Regions from separate parts of the Homo sapiens genome. Here region 1 is linked to region 2. Evidence: promoter capture Hi-C in human tissues and cell types (Jung and others, 2019). All regions are on one chromosome and are shown on one strand. Each heading gives the region's core, a stretch centred on a gene start or on the middle of the fragment in contact. The rest is flanking DNA. Distances are from core to core; before and after follow the strand shown. Region 1 overlaps PTPN13 (protein tyrosine phosphatase non-receptor type 13). Region 2 holds the start of PTPN13 (protein tyrosine phosphatase non-receptor type 13).

Region 1 (2,749 bases), core at 119-2,618, 110 kb after region 2:
AGCATGCCCTCATGGAAACAATTATATAAAGAAATCTTGTCCATTGTGAAAAAAAAAAAACCTTCAATGATTCAAATAGATAAAACCATTATAGTTTTGAAATAGAAATAATGAAGATATGTACCAATCTATATGAGTATTTAAAAGGCTGAATGGTATCTTTTTTTTATTGTGAATGTTAAAAATGAAATTATAGGCCAGGCATGGTGGGTCACACCTGTAATCCTAGCACTTTTGGAGGTCAAGGTGGGAGAATTGCTTGAAGTCAGAAGTTCAAGACCAGTCTGGGCAATATAGCAAGACCTCATATCTACAAAAAAAATTTTTTAATTATCCAAGTGTGGTGGTGCACACCTGTAGTTCCAGCTACTCAGGAGGCTGAGGTGGGAGGATCACTTGAGCTGAGAAGTTTGAAGCTGCAGTGATCTGTCATCAAGCCACTGCACTCTAGACTGTGCAACAAAGCGAGACTCTGTCTCTAATGATAGTAATAATAAAATTGGCCAGGCGTGGTGGCTCATGCCTGTAATCCTGGCACTATGGCAGGCTGAGACGAGCAGATCACCTGAGGTCGGGAGTTCGAGACCAGCCTCACCAACATGGAGAAACCCCGTCTTTACTGAAAAAAAAATACAAAAATTAGCCAGGCATGGTGGTGCATGCCTGTAATCCCAGCTACTTGGGAGGCTGAGGCTGAGGCAGGAGAATCAAGTGAACCCAGGAGGTGGAGGTTGCAGTGAACCGAGATCGCGCCATTGCACCCCAGCCTAGGCAACAAGAGCGAAACTCCGTCTCAAATAATAATCATTATAATTTCTAATGTTTTTATGTGTGATCTAAGTTTCAAAACATTACTTGTCTTGATATTTGGTAAATTAGTAGTAATGTGAATTAGCAAAGCTTGAGATTTTTTTTTTATACTTGAACCTTGGTTTGAGAGTTAAACAGGAAAAACATCAAACATTAATGGAAACGTATTTAATCTGTTAAATTATACCATAATAGTCTATTTAATATATTTCGTTTGTTTTTCATTACCAATAACAAAATATATTAGACTATTGTAGCATATGATTCTATTATCTTCTCAGTTAATGTGTATGCACATGTGTATAAGTGTTAAGGAAACTCAGACCATCTTATTTCTACATATGCTTTTATATCTGCAAAGATGATACATAATTCTTGTAGAGCCTTATTTGTTCAAAAGGTAATTACGTATTTGATACATCATTTCCAGATTTAGAAATTTCGTATTTGTTATAGGATGCACAAACAAAAGAAAAGCTTTTTAAAAAAAAATCTGCTTTCAATTGTTCGATATAGGACAATCTTGAAATCTTTTTAACTAGGGTTTTCAAAAGCATTTGCTCTCATGAAGAACCTACCCATTATTCCCCCAGAGGATATTTTACAACCCAGTTAAACAAACACCTAAAAATGTTGGATTATTATGGAAATACACTACCTTAAACCTCCATTATTATATAGTAACTTGAAAGCAGCAATAAATTATGTTTGCTTTAGACTACAGGCATTAATCAAAAGGAATGTTAGAAGTTTAGAATTCAAAAGCACTAATTCTTACTAGTTATTTAGTTGAGTAACTTGCTGGTCTTATGCTGTGCTTTTTCTAAAGGTGAGGTAATTTATGTTGCAAACAAGGCTGGGCGCGGTGGCTGATGCCTGTAATCCCAGCACTTTGGGAGGCCAGGGCGGGCAGATCACGAGGTCAGGAGATCAAGACCATCCTGGCTAACACGGTGAAACCCCATCTCTACTAAAAATACAAAAATTAGCCTGGTGTGGTGGTACATGCCTGTAGTCCCAGCTATTCAGGAGGCTGAGGCAGGAGAATCACTTGAACCTATGAGGCAGAGGTTGCAGTGAGCCAAGATCGTGCCATTGCACTGCAGCCTGGGTGACAGAGCAAGACTCCGTCTCAAAAAAAAAAAAAAAGACATGCGCAAACAAACGTGCAGCTTGTTAATATGAAGATTTTAGCTACTATACAAAGAAAAAAGAATAGAAAATCATGTAAATCCCATTTTTCTCATTTAATTCTAGTGAGAGACAGGCTTCACAGATCCCTTTTATGTGTGATAAATCAAGCAGAACTGTAAATATCAATGTATACATTTTATTGTACACATTTCTTTCTTAAACTATTTGTGTTTTAAAAGTTTTAAAAAGAAATGTTTTGTACAATTTTTGTGATCTTTAAATTTGGCAGCTGCTAATGGGTTTCAGTAATTATAGAATTAGAAGAGGTCTTAGAGCACATGTTATCGAAACATATTCTTGGGCTTGTAAAGATTTAATAACATACCTAAGATCACATAATGAGTTAAAGATAGAGTTTTATTATTTTGGAGATTGTAGATTTTCATCATGGATTTTCAGAATATCAGTCTAAGGATTTCCCACTACATGTGACTTAAAAAAAAAAAAGGATGTATTCTCACATTCCTTGAGCTGATATAATAATTGGAAGAAACAAAATTGCTAAATTTTAATTTGTTCTTTGGGTGTTCTAGGAGGGTTATTGAGTTAATAAACAGTTTTCTCCTCCAACCTCTGATAATATAGCTTTTTCCTTAACCCAGGCCCCATTCTCTTGAAAGGATCCTTTACCTAAATAATCTCCTCAGCATTTCCCCAGCTAACAACATCAACTAGCTAACTAGCATAAGGGACACAAGACCTTCAAATCATGGAATTTGGAAGTGGAAGGAATCTGGATACCATT
Region 2 (2,700 bases), core at 142-2,641:
CAAGAGTGCTAGTTTTCTTTCTTAGGCTCCAGGTTAGCTCCTTGGGAGCGGGGACTTAGCTTAAAATCCTGCTGTGTATTTTCCGTTGTGTTTAGCCCTATGAGTAATCACATTCAATGCATACTTGTAAGGCATATTTGACTGAAGATATCTATCATAGTTATTCATTTAGTAAATGATATAATGAAAACTCAAGTGCTCGCCAAAGATAAATCATTACTATTAATTCCCTCATTCATCATACATGTATGGCAGCCTCAGGGGCTAGGGAACCTAGGATTGCTGCTTTGACTTTTTTTGGGGAAGCCAAATAAGCCTCAGATCTCTCCACTTTGGAGCCAGCCATGAAATTCAGATTTACCTAGGGCTCAACATTAAGGGTCTCAGACTAAATTTATCTTCAGGTACCCTTTCCAGAGTGGACCAGTTTACCTTATACCTCTGAGAATAACCCAAAACTTTCAAAACTCAAATCACAGGATATTATTTGTTCATGAATTCAGCAAGACTCTCTTGTTTAACTATTGAAACTCAAATATTTCGGCTTGCAGCAAGGAGGGGTACAGCTGTCTGGATATACCTTGGCCAAATTTCAGTGTATATAGAAAAGTGGGAGGTTATCGACTATGTTAAACCTTTTCCTTAAATTTTCAAACTTCGGGATTATTTTAGTCTCATAGATAAAATAACAAGGCAAGTATTTACAAACTTTTTTCAAAAATATGAGAATTTCAGTTTTCCCTAGGGCATTTGGCGTTGTGCTGTCACCACACTTTTGAAGATAGCTTTACAACCGTGGGAAAACTCACCGGGCTTTTTTCGTTGACCCCGCCATTTCTAAGTTGCTATATTGCTGCAAGGAGCTGGCAAAGCCATGCTCTTCCTCTCCCCCATTCTCCTCTTCCTTTCAAAGACCAAAGCGCCCCGTGAGAATATAGAAACAAGGCTGAGAGGCAGCGAAGAGTAAGGGAGGAGCCAGCACTTACGCATTTTTCACTCTCCTCCTCACTCCCTAGGGTCATAGTTTTGATTCTGAAGTTAGAAGTGTGGGGGTCGTCGGCTGCATTTTCAACTTGGCCTAAAAGTTGGAGTTCACCACACTGCAGGCGCTAGGAACTCTGCCGCTCGGTCACCAACCTGAGCCTCTGGCTAGTCCGAAGAACGCGAAAAGCCAGGCCCAAGGCACTGGTTGTCATGGCAACCGGGGCGCTGGTCTCCCTGGCGACCTCGTCCCTAGGGAGGAGGTGGAGCTGGATGCCAGGCGGGCCAATGAGGTCGAGGGGAGCTCGGGGTGGGAGATCTGCGGTCCTCCCAGTGCCGGGGAATGGTTGAGTGACAGGACCGGGGGGGCGGAGCCGGCGCGGCTGCCCGAGGTGGAGCCCCAGTGGTGCGAGTAGCTCCAGCGGCCACGCTGAGGCGAGGGTGACACACCATGCTCACGGCCCCTGGAGACCGTCGTGCTGGCGAGCCGTGCTCCGTAGCTCCCCGGTCCGCCTCGGCAGCGGTCAGAGTCGCCTACAGGAGTTGAGCCGCCCGCGCCAGAAGGTTTTGGCGAAGCTCTTGGAGAGGCGTCGAGCACAGTAGGGCGGCGGGGGTGCGTTGAGCGCTCGGGGGTCAGGCAGTCGGCCGGGATCGCCGCTGGGGAGCGTTTCCGAGGCGAGGAGGAGGAGGAGGAGATGCTGCTCCTCTTCTCCCCCTCCCCAGGCTCCTTCTACAGCTCCTTCAGCCCACGCCCGCAGCCGCTTGTGGGAGAAGTGGTGGTGGCTCTCGGCGCCCGCGGCGGCTGCCGGCGGCCCGCCCCGACGCCGCGTCCCTGCAGCCCTCGCCCGGCGCTCCAGTAGCAGGACCCGGTCTCGGGACCAGCCGGTAAGGACGAGAGCCGCCCTGGGCTCTGCGCTGCATGTGCAGAAGTGCAAAACAAAGTACATTGCGCTCGTTCTCTTCCTCCTCTCTCTGCTTTCGCTCCAGTCCCTAAACCCAACTCCTCGGTTGCCCTGGTAGAAGGAACTTTTCTTTGGTTTTGGTGGTGGGTGTTTTTGTACGTTAGAGTGGGGGTGGGGTGACTGGAGTGGGGAAGAATGAGATGAAACTCCATTGCTAATTAGGTAGATCCATCTCCTCTGCGGAAGAAAGCCGGATTCTCGGGAATGAAACCCACAGGGGGAGTAAGAGATTGTGGGGTAATAGGGAGTGACATTGCCCCGTCGTGCTTGCACAGCTCCGCTCTGTGCGTGCTTAAGGGAAGGGCTCCCGGAGTCTGTTTCTAATTTCTGCAAATGATTGTGGAGATGGTGTGGTTAGAGGCCGCCCAGAAGAATGTGTGTGTAAGGGCTCGAGAAGGGGGTGGGATGGCGGGGAAGCAGAGGAAGAGGGGGCAGAGGGAGAGACACTGTCTGATGCAAGGTCTTTTATTGCTTTTCTTCTGCTTGCTAAAGTTAACACTCTACCCTCCGGCCCCCTAGCCCCACCGCTTTGCTCATTACGTGATACTGTAAGAGCAGACAGCTGGGAAGCTAAAGTTAAACCAAAGTCAAGAAAATTCTTACAAAGTTTAATTTCCTTCTGTTGTGAATATAATGGAGAGAGGAGGATGGGGAGAAATATCACTAAGAGATTTACAGCAATACAGTTTTCATTGGCCATACACGTATATGATCGACACCACCGCACACTTCCAACTAATCTGTTCGACAGCCTTGT

Evidence for each region. The method cuts DNA at HindIII sites, captures the fragments that hold promoters and counts their contacts. A contact is called where the count stands out against the background at its distance.
Region 1: a fragment that was not itself captured here is called in contact with the fragment with the promoter of PTPN13 in region 2 in 3 of the 25 tissues and cell types used here (dorsolateral prefrontal cortex, hippocampus and neural progenitor cells).

What each region holds. Positions count from the first base shown.
Region 1 is chr4:86,703,390-86,706,138 of GRCh38, forward strand. The region is part of intron 7 of PTPN13 (protein tyrosine phosphatase non-receptor type 13); the gene reads left to right. Among named protein-coding and RNA genes, the nearest start is that of PTPN13, 110 kb to the left of the region's middle. The HindIII fragment of the contact is 4,391 bases long and covers 1-2,749 here.
Region 2 is chr4:86,592,924-86,595,623 of GRCh38, forward strand. It overlaps PTPN13 (protein tyrosine phosphatase non-receptor type 13), which reads left to right and starts at 1,392. Exons shown (of 48, transcript NM_080683.3): 1 at 1,392-1,866. It also overlaps a transcript of MAPK10 not described here. RefSeq lists an enhancer at 1,043-1,629. The HindIII fragment of the contact is 10,688 bases long and covers 1-2,700 here.